Regions from separate parts of the Homo sapiens genome. Here regions 2, 3 and 4 are each linked to region 1. The links are contacts of gene promoters, found by promoter capture Hi-C in blood cells and fetal thymus (Javierre and others, 2016). All regions are on one chromosome and are shown on one strand. The core of a region is centred on a gene start or on the middle of the fragment in contact, and the rest is flanking DNA. Distances in the headings are between cores, read along the strand shown. Region 1 holds the start of SELE (selectin E). Region 2 overlaps F5 (coagulation factor V). Region 3 overlaps F5 (coagulation factor V). Region 4 overlaps F5 (coagulation factor V).

Evidence for each region. The method cuts DNA at HindIII sites, captures the fragments that hold promoters and counts their contacts. A CHiCAGO score of 5 or more calls a contact.
Region 2: a fragment that was not itself captured here is called in contact with the fragment with the promoter of SELE in region 1 in 4 of 17 cell types (activated CD4 T cells, non-activated CD4 T cells, naive B cells and 1 more); the score reaches 8.4 in activated CD4 T cells.
Region 3: a contact is called between a fragment that was not itself captured here and the fragment with the promoter of SELE in region 1, in 8 of 17 cell types (naive B cells, activated CD4 T cells, naive CD8 T cells and 5 more). The highest score is 7.0, in naive B cells.
Region 4: a fragment that was not itself captured here is called in contact with the fragment with the promoter of SELE in region 1 in 11 of 17 cell types (neutrophils, total CD8 T cells, total B cells and 8 more); the score reaches 9.5 in neutrophils.

The regions. Positions count from the first base shown.
Region 1 is chr1:169,732,822-169,735,334 of GRCh38, forward strand. It overlaps SELE (selectin E), which reads right to left and starts at 1,258. Exons shown (of 14, transcript NM_000450.2): 1 at 1,150-1,258; 2 at 755-839; 3 at 1-177. The coding sequence starts at 791. The HindIII fragment of the contact is 3,955 bases long and covers 447-2,513 here.
Region 2 is chr1:169,526,609-169,529,121 of GRCh38, forward strand. It overlaps F5 (coagulation factor V), which reads right to left. Exons shown (of 25, transcript NM_000130.5): 17 at 1,307-1,486. Among named protein-coding and RNA genes, the nearest start is that of SLC19A2, 42 kb to the left of the region's middle. RefSeq lists a silencer at 1-199. The HindIII fragment of the contact is 2,811 bases long and covers 1-2,513 here.
Region 3 is chr1:169,549,897-169,552,409 of GRCh38, forward strand. F5 (coagulation factor V) reads right to left here. Exons shown (of 25, transcript NM_000130.5): 9 at 744-843; 10 at 1-119. Among named protein-coding and RNA genes, the nearest start is that of F5, 35 kb to the right of the region's middle. The HindIII fragment of the contact is 2,152 bases long and covers 188-2,339 here.
Region 4 is chr1:169,566,113-169,568,625 of GRCh38, forward strand. All of the region lies in intron 3 of F5 (coagulation factor V), which reads right to left. Among named protein-coding and RNA genes, the nearest start is that of F5, 19 kb to the right of the region's middle. The HindIII fragment of the contact is 2,868 bases long and covers 1-2,513 here.

The sequences.
Region 1 (2,513 bases), core at 8-2,507:
TCCAGTAATAACTTGGTGAATAGCTCAATATGGAGTTTAGGTACTCAATCTCTTCTTTGTTTTGAATTGCAACCAGGTGTGTGTACCTTTGCTGACAATAAGCACTGGCCTCATCATAAGTCATAGCTTCCGTGGAGGTGTTGTAAGACCAGGCTCCACTCTCTTTAATGAGAAGCACTAGTGGGAGAAAAAGAAAAGAAATGGTAGAGTTTGGTACTGTTGTGGTTTAACTCTGACAACTGTGCTTTTTATTGTCTTATTTTTGGCAATGTTTGTGACATGGCCCAGACTTTTCTCATCTTTTCAAAAGTAAGAAGTACGTATGAAGAAACAGCGACTTATTGTTTATCTCTTTTGTGACTGCCACCCACTAGGTACCTTATCCACACTCACTCACAACATTATAGTATACCCATTTTGTAGTAGAATAATAATCAGAATAACTAAGCTTTATTGAGCACTTAGTATGCACCAAGAAGCACTGTATGAGGTACTTTCCATGAACCATGCTATTGAATCCTCACAATGCATCTGGGAAATAGGTCATTATGATCCACACTTTACACTTAAGGAAAGGGAGACACCAAGAGGTAAAGTAAATGACCCCAAGCCCAGGGAAGAACACATTGCAGGTAGAGGTCAAGGATGCTGCCAGATATCCTGTGCAGGACAGCCCCAGACAAGCAAGGATATTTCAGTCTGAAATATCTATAGTGCGAGAATGAGAAATCTTGGTCTAATGGCACTGACTTACCCAAAGTGAGAGCTGAGAGAAACTGTGAAGCAATCATGACTTCAAGAGTTCTTTTCACCCAAAGGTTTAGGCTTGAAATACTTTCCTGGGGAGATAAAACACAAAATGAATTAAAGAAGGAAATCGTGGGTAGCTAGTTACATTATTCTACCATGATGTTTAAGGCAGCATCCTAAGATTTTGGGCAAAGGACACTAGTGCAATAATCTTTATTTCAGAGTTTAATCAAATAAATAAACAAATTTTAAGACTTTCATTATTTAGGTCAAAGAGAAAAGACAGGTTTTAGCTACAATACAATAAGAGCTTGTACAGATGTGGTTTTTATTAGAAGGCCTTTTGCATATCTGTGTTTCATGGCCCGAGGCTGCCCTTATAAAGCGTTCTGCACTTACCGTTTTGGGAAGCAGTTGTTCAAACACAGGATCTCTCAGGTGGGTATCACTGCTGCCTCTGTCTCAGGTCAGTATAGGAGTTTTGATGTGAAGTCAGCCAAGAACAGCTGAACACTACTTCGGCTGAGGCCCTTTTATAGGAGGGATTGCTTCCTGTGAATAATAGGAGGATATTGTCCACATCCAGTAAAGAGGAAATCCCCAATGGCATCCAAAAACTTTCCCGGGAATATCCACGATGCTTAAAATTACAATGATGTCAGAAACTCTGTCTCTTGAAGCTACTTCACCTTTGTCCATGCCTTTATATCGTATATGCAATTTTATTAATATGACAAAAATGCATGATTTTTAATTATAATAACATAAAGTCTATGTCTTTAAAAAGTTGTAAAACTTTGCTTGTTAGTAGTGTCTCTCATGTAGTTGTGGTAGTAATTAGAATTTCAGAAACAGAAGGAAACCAAGAATAGGTTTGTCATCCATAGTCTACTACCTTCAATTTCTCATTCATAGCTGTGGATAACCAATCACTACTCATTTTTTCTTCCTTTTTCACCTGCCAATTCAACATATTTAACATGCACTGTCTCACAGAGGAATGACTCACAAGGTAGATATTAATCTTCAGATTTTGCACGGCAGTTATGCCTAAATTAAAATATTATCTAAAAATAATATCTAACACTCAAATGGTTAAAATAATGCCTTATTTTAAAAAAAGAAAAATGGGAAATAGATATTTACATCTGGGAAAGTTTCATGGTTTGTTCAGTGAAAAAAATAAAAAGGAGGCCAGGCACAGTGGCTCACGCCTGTAATCCCACCACTTTGGGAGGCCGAGGCAGGCGGATCACCTGAGGCCGGGAGTTCAAGACCAGCCTGACCAACATGGAGAAACGCCATCTCTACTAAAAATACAAAATTAGCTGGGCATGGTGGCGCATGCCTGTAATCCCAGCTACTCGGGAGGCTGAGGCAGGAGAATCGCTTGAACCCGGGAAGTGGAGGTTGCAGTGAGCCAAGATCACGCCAGTGCACTCCAGCCTGGGAAACGAGTGAAACTCTGTCTTAAAAAAAAAAAAAAAAAAAGAAAAGAAAAGAAAAAAAATAAAACGGAAAACTATATATATATATTTAATTGGTCAAAATTTTGTTTAAAATTTTTGAAATGTTAATGTGCAAAGAATAAAAATTCTTCCACAATGTTAACAGTGACTAACTCTGGATGGCAGGATTTGGGATAATTTTTATATCCTTCATTATTATTTTCAGGATTTTAAAGTTTTTTTCAATTTCCCTTTTTTTCACCTTTATAGTAACAAGAATACAGTTTAAAGAAACTTGTCTCTAGGCCAGGCATG
Region 2 (2,513 bases), core at 10-2,509, 210 kb before region 1:
GACTGTTTCCCAGATTGTGGGTGAAAATGAATAGATATGATTATCTTCCTCAAACACACTGAAAAATGTCTCCAGTTTTCCTCTCTCCAATGCAGGTATTTAGGTTTGCAGATTTAGAGACACCAGCCAATCCTAGCTTCTCAGTCTGTCTGCAGGCTGATAGGAAGGATGACTGATCTTCTAATACTTGATGAAAAGATGAGTAAATTTGACTGAATCTCTTCTGTCTCTGATTTTAATACAATAAATTATCTATTAATTATTATATTAATTAATTAATATGATATTAATATAATACAATTAATACTCTCTAGATGTATTAGTGAGTTACTGGCATGTGAAAAACCAATAAGAACCCTCTTTTTTTCCCTGCTCTTAATCAAACCAGTCCATTTGGACTTCTGTGCCTGCATCTGAGGCAGATTCACACAACGTCACCCAAAGTGCTGTCGAGGGGCTGCCTTCACTAACTCCTCAGGCAGCATGTGTTAGGTTGGTGCAAACTATAATTGCGGTTTTTGCCATTACTTTTAATAGAAGGCAAAATAGAAGGAAGGCTGCTTGTTAAAAATACAGACTCCTTGGAATTCTGCCCAAAATCTACTTTAAAGTCTCTGAGAACAAAATCCCTCTGCCTTCACATCTGCATTTTAACTGACTTCCTAGGTTTTTATACTGCTGCACAAGTAGATACACTTACAAACAACTCATTGGCACAGAAACATCCCTTCTGTATAATTGTAGACTGTTTAAATCTACATTTATCTTTATTTTGCACATGAAAAGTTCTAAATACCTTTGTTATTCTTTAACTTTTATTATTATTTTTTAAAAATGTTTTCCTCTTCAAACAGTCTATAAGTCAGTTTAAGAATGTGATTCCTGGAGTCACTTGCCCAAAGATATTAGGGTGATAGGGCCTAGAAGAGGAGCAGAACTGAAGAATCTGGAAACCCTCCCAGCAGAGATAGCTGTAGCTGCCTGAGCCCTGTGGGATTCATTTTTTCATCTGCTTAAGACCTCATCTGTATGACACACAGTGGCTTGGGAGAAACTGCATGTTATGTTGCAACTGAGTTGGGTCACACATTTAGCCTGTGTGGTGCTGCAAATAGTTCATAAATTAGGTGACATTTTTGTACTCCGTATATACTTTGGGTCTATGGGTTTGCCTAGGCTCTATGCCAGAACCCTGTGTTCTGACCCCTTAGGAAGTATATGCACAAGGAAGAAATGAGAAGGAGTTACAGATTGCCTTTTCCCTGTATTTCTTAGCAGGGACCTCTTCCCATTACCCAATCTTTACCAGGCAGAAGGGGCCAGACCCCTAACTGGTGCTGTTTATTGCCATTTTCCAGCAAGGTCTGGCCGTGAAAGTGAACCACGTGAATGTCTTGGGAGCCGCCTATGTTCAGCAGGTGTAACCTCACCCACTCTTGCTCATACATTTTCAGGCCAGGCAAGCTGTAGATCATCCCATTAATGGCTGAAAGGACAAAGAGTTGAAATCAATTAAAAATCTGTTGACACAGAGAGGGCGAGTGGTAAGGAAATATGGGGCAACCCACTCAACACCCATGTTCCTCATGATTCTGCATTCCCAGGCCTACCTAGCCATGGAAAGGGCCCTCTTGTATGTCACATTAGTGAGAGGCTAAAGCAGAACCACTAGTCCTTCTCATATCATTCACACCAGCCTACAGCAGAAGGCAGGGGGAACTCCCTTTCCAAGCAGTTTATCACTCTTTTCCTCAGCTTTTACAGTTCCGTGCTTTACCCGTGTATACTTTCCATTAACAGTCTTAATTTTCCTTAACTACAAAAGATAAATACAAATATGGGCAGACAAAGTAAACTCCAGGGATTAGAGTCAGCAAGGAGATATGCAGCATGTCACCTTAAGGCCTTCTAAATTCAGAGAAAGTTTCAGGCAAATTAGGAAGTCTAGGAGTTTATAAAATTAGGAGTTTATCGTTGGTGTATCCAGCAACCATAGCAAGTCATGTTTATTCTCTTATTGGTATGACAACTCCTCTGCCCACTTCTCAGATTAGATAACTAGGGTTCTCAGGCTTTATCTACTCTCCCCACAGTAAAATACGCGGATTTTTTAAAAAGTTCCTGAGAAACTTGATCACCTTAAAAATGTAACACAAAACTGTAAAGATAAAGTTTAGTGTTACCAAACGTTTAACTGAAACCAAAGTGAAGGAAGTGCTTTGTTTCCTCCTTCTTAAGTTAGAGGAACTGCTGTGAAATTTCAGAAACCAGGCAGGTGAATTTTTGGAGAGGGACGGGTTGAGATCATTTGGGCATCCTTCAAATTATATCAGGCGTGAGAACACCTATCTACATATTCATAACACAAGCTCGTACCTTTCTCTTCTCAGTTTCTGTTTCAGTTACTAGCTTACAGGGCAAATTTTCCTTGTGAATTTCCAAATAGGCACACTTTTCCCAGTGTGACCACCCAAATGCTCTCTTGCCACTATTCTCCTATTACCTGGGTACCT
Region 3 (2,513 bases), core at 14-2,513, 180 kb before region 1:
GTATGGTCTTGTTAAGCACTGGGCATCATTTTCTGTGGGTTCATCAAACTCTAAGATGTTCCACTTATAAGTATAGGTTTCCCCTGGTTGAACTGCTCTGATCATGGTGTTGTTCCTGCCTGAAAGAAAATATATTCAAAATTGTTTTCATTTGCAAAGTTATTTCATGATAATAAATAAATAAATAAGCTTTCGCTGGAACCAATTAATATTGCAAAAGGAATTCTTTTATTTTTATTTTTTTTAAATTATACTTTAAGTTCTAGGGTACATGTGCACAACGTGCAGGTTTGTTACATATGTATACATGTGTCATGTTGGTGTGCTGCACCCATTAACTTGTCATTAACATTAGGTATATCTCCTAATGCTATCCCTCCCCCCGCCCCCCACCCCCCCCCCCCGACAGGCCCCGGTGTGTGATGTTCCCCATCCTGTGTCTAAATGTTCTCATTGTTCAATTGAATTCTTTAAATATTCTACTTGGAACCTGGATAACATGTAGCCATTAGATAATGCTCCACTAGAGGCCACTATGACACTAATAAAAGACACCATATTTTGTTACCACTAAGAGACAAAACTCCTGAAGTGAGAAGGGTTTGGCTGTGATTTTTAGGATACTCCTACATGTATACTACCTGACTGCAGTAGTGACACCACCGGGCAAGGAGAATAGCAGAAAAATGTGGCAGCCTCTCAGAAGTTACTAGTTGGATTCAGTAGAAGTGAAAGATTCAAACCTGAGGTGAAAGAAGAGTTGACTTCATCTTCATAAGGCGAGAAGGTCACTCCATGAGGGTAAATGCTATAGGGGCGGCTGGCCATATTTTTGAACACGATCTACAAAGTTAAATCAAATTTATTCTAGGATTTAAGGTTGATCATGACAAATAATATAAGATACTAGCTTTGCATATTCACCTTTTGGATGGTGTGTGTGTATACATGTGTACACACAGTAGGAAAATTAGATCTGTTTATCTGAGCAGTAACCTCCCCTCATCACTTGGCAGGAGCATTGGAGAGAGTGTTTCACTCACACATTAAGGTGGAAAATGGAAAGAGAAGTCTGACTTTAGAGGATAGGTTAGGAGAAGTGACGTTTTCCTCACAGTATCACTCTCTCCAAGCAAGTCCTCCTTCCCCTGCCCTTCTCTTTTCAGCTTGGGCCACATCTCATTTTGAATCTGCTTCTCATCTCTAGACCATGATCCCCTTCCCCTGCCCGGTAGATTTTTTAGGACACTGTCTTTGAAGTCATCTTCTCAGCTAGGTTCAGTGGCTCAAACCTGTAACCCCAGCACTTTGGGAGGCTGAAGCAGGTGGATCACTTGAGCTCAGGAGTTCAAGACCAGCCTGGGCAACATGGTGAAACCTCATCTCTACAAAAAAATACAAAAATTAGCCAGGCGTTGGGGCGTGTGCCTGTAGTCCCAGCTACTTGAGAGGCTGAGGTGCGAGAATCGCCTGAGCCCAGGAAGTGGAGGTTGCAGTGAGCCATGATCACACCACTGCACTCCAGCCTGGGTGACAGAGTAAGACCCTTGGTGGGGGGGAAAAGCTACTTGCTTGAGAGGCACAGACAAATAGCCAGATCCTGAACTTTTAATAAGGTATGTCTACACTTGCTGAGAGCACATAAAAGGGATCAGAAATGGAAGAAGGGAAAGAGGCATGGAGAAAAAAAACTGCTTTTGTCCTTTGGCTATTTTAAATGAACAGAATAGACCTTGTCAGGTGCATAAAACACACAGGAGTCCTAGTTAGGCTCTTTAATCTGCAAAAGAGAACCTTAATCCTATCTTCTATTTGGTTGATTGTCAAAGCCTTTGGATCATCCTTTGTCTGTAGATTAACTACACTCTAGGATTTTGTCAAAGATTGCAACCTTTAATTCTCTGCTGTCCAATTCTTATCTATCTTGGTGAAGTGACATGACATTTAAGGAGAATTGTCTGAGGAAAACTCCGTGCTCTTGATACATGGAGTTTACCTTCATCAGAGTCCAACCATTAGAGAGCTGCATACCTAGACTACATTAAAAAATGAGTAAAAATTGTTTCTATTCAATTGTGTTTACTGTTATATCTTAGCTATAATGAGAAATATTTTAATGCAACTTTTAATCTATTATTTTATGCAACTTTTAATCTATTATGCTGGTTATAAGAATTTTATCAAGGATGCCATCTACTGTATCACTCAGCACTCTCTTTTGTAGAACTCATTAAAGAAGTTCCTCTTAGATCTTAACATCAGGATAAATGGTGCTTTCTTTTTGTAGATGATGTAAACTTCACCCTGACATATTTCCTTTTTTACACTGACTGCCATAAAGCTTAGGACAAAATTTGAAGACAGCCTTACAGGGTCACATGGTATCTACTTATCTGTGGCTTTATTTTCTTTGTCCCCGTATTCTATCCCAATTACATAGACTCCTTGTTTTATGCCTTTATAACTTGAGAAACTGTCTCAGATCCTTTGTATTACTGAGTAAGCTGTAAATA
Region 4 (2,513 bases), core at 7-2,506, 170 kb before region 1:
GTCTATTAACTGAAATTAGCATGGCTAGTTGATGAGCTGCACCATCTACCTTGAATCAAGCATGACAGCCCTTCTTCAATGCTTCTTGCTACATGGCCTCATAAAGTTGAAAAATGATGTTTCTGGACAGGCAGCTTCCACTGTTTCAACTGTTAAAACATCACATGGGGTTTCTATAGTAGAAAATGATATTCTTTCCACTGCCTTCACAAGCTCCCCTAAGGGCAAAACATTATATTCTTTGCAGGGTAGGAGATAACTTTTGAAGTTCTTCCTCCCTTTATTTTTCTGGGTAAATGTGTGCTCATTCTTCAGATGTCAGATCAAATATCATCTTACACCCTTCTTGATCTCTGATTGTGATACCTGTTTGTTTGTTGTTGGTTTTTTGACAGCACTCATCGCCATTTGTAATTCAGTATTTGTGAGACTATATGGTTAACGATACTTTTTTCTGCTAGATAGTGGGAGAAAGCACTTGAACTTCAGGGTCAGAGTTGAAAATATCTTGGTGGTTGTATCATTTGCTAACTGTGGGAACTTGGGAAGGTTTCTTGAAGTCCCTTTAACCTCAGTTTTTTCATTTATAATTTAAGATAATATAATCCTTTTTCTAGAGATAACTTTATCCTTTTTGATGGGTTATGAAGACTGGAAAATATTTGTAAAATTTCTGGCTCCTAACAAATGCTCTGATAGCCTGTGGGAATACATGTTCACATTTTGGTTAAGTATTTTCTTTCCCAGTCATGTTGCAATTAATACAGCCTCTTTCCTTTATGTTCTACTTTAGATAAGATAGATCTTAAGTGTGCTTGAGTTCTGGTAACACATGTGAGTAAGATAGAAATTGGTGATTTTCTTAGTTTGGGTTGCTGTTAACAAAGTACCCTGGATTGAGTGGCTTATAAACAACGGACACTTCTTCCTCACAGTTCTGGAGGCTGGAAGTTTAAAATCAGGGTGCCAGCATGGTTGGGTTCTGGTGCAGGGTCTCTTCCAGGTTGTAGACTGCCATCTTCTCCTTGTATCCTCACATGGTAGAAAGAGGGTGAGTGAGAGGGTCCCTTTTATAAGGGCACTAATCTCATCATGAGGGCTCCATCCTCATTACCTAAAAATCTCCCAAAGGAGGGGGGAGGGATAGCATTGGGAGATATACCTAATGCTAGATGACGAGTTAGTGGGTGCAGCGCACCAGCATGGCACATGTATACATATGTAACTAACCTGCACAATGTGCACATGTACCCTAAAACTTAAAGTATAATAAAAAAAAATCTCCCAAAGGCCCCACCTGCTAATGCCATCACACTGGAGGTTAGATTTCAGTATGTGAATTTTTGGAGGACACAAACTTCCAATCCATTGTAGTGATGTATCTATTCCAAAGGCGATGAAAGTAAATAAGACTTTTTTGGTAAAAGTACTTTTTTTTTTTTTTTTTGGTAATAAGTAAGACAAAGTACCTGCTCAAAATTATCAGCAAAATCAATAATTTTAAAGCAAGGGAAAAATAATGCATAGTCCTTACTTTCTAATCAGTCCTCGGCCCCTCAGTTTAGTTCAGTAATGATTAATATCATCATGATCATGACCATCATCATCCACTAGGTTCCAGGCTCTGTGCTAAATGCCAGAGTACAAATGTAAAGAAGACAGGGCCTGGGCCCCTGAGGGGCTCTGCCTAGTTAACTCTAGGGTACATGTTGGTGCCCTAATTGTGATAGGTTTGACCTCTAGATTTCTTCTAGGGCTACAATTAGAACACACTGTCAATCTGGAATGAGAACCAACCAATGTAAGTATCTAAAAATTGCCCAAGATGCTATAACACTTGTGCTAGGTATAGCAGGGTGACTGATTTTCTAACAATATTGAACCTATCTGTAAACAATCAATGTTTCACACCTAGATTTATTTTAACACATACTGGGCTTAAAAAATTATTGTATATACTTGTGTACATGATATTTTGAGATAGATAATGAAAGGTTACTCTAGTCACACAAATTAATGTCTGTCTAATTGATCAAACTAAATTACTCAGAATTTCACATTCGCCTGTCAGTTACATATAAGATGAATTTCAAATAATTAAATGAATGATGTTAATTAAGTTTAGTATACTACTAAAAGTTGAATTATGAGCATCTTGAAACAGTGAATGATATAGACTTGTACATAGGATATATTCTATAATTACACTGAGTGAGATGGCTAATGAGACAATTGGGGTGTAATTTTATCAATGCTTTTATTCTTTTCACTTCAAATTATTTTACCTTTAGTCTAGAATAAAACAGGTTTGTTGTATCTTTGATTTTACAACATACATTAATATAAAGTATAAAATACAAACAGCTATTAAGAGGAAGCATTTGTGAGATGCAGTTTTGGTGAATGTGATTTTGACTTTGTAATCAAAATAAAAAAAATTAAGCTCTAAACTGAAAAGAAGAGAAATGGACAGGGACAACTATTGTGCTAGAGCACAAGAAGTCCTTGTTCAG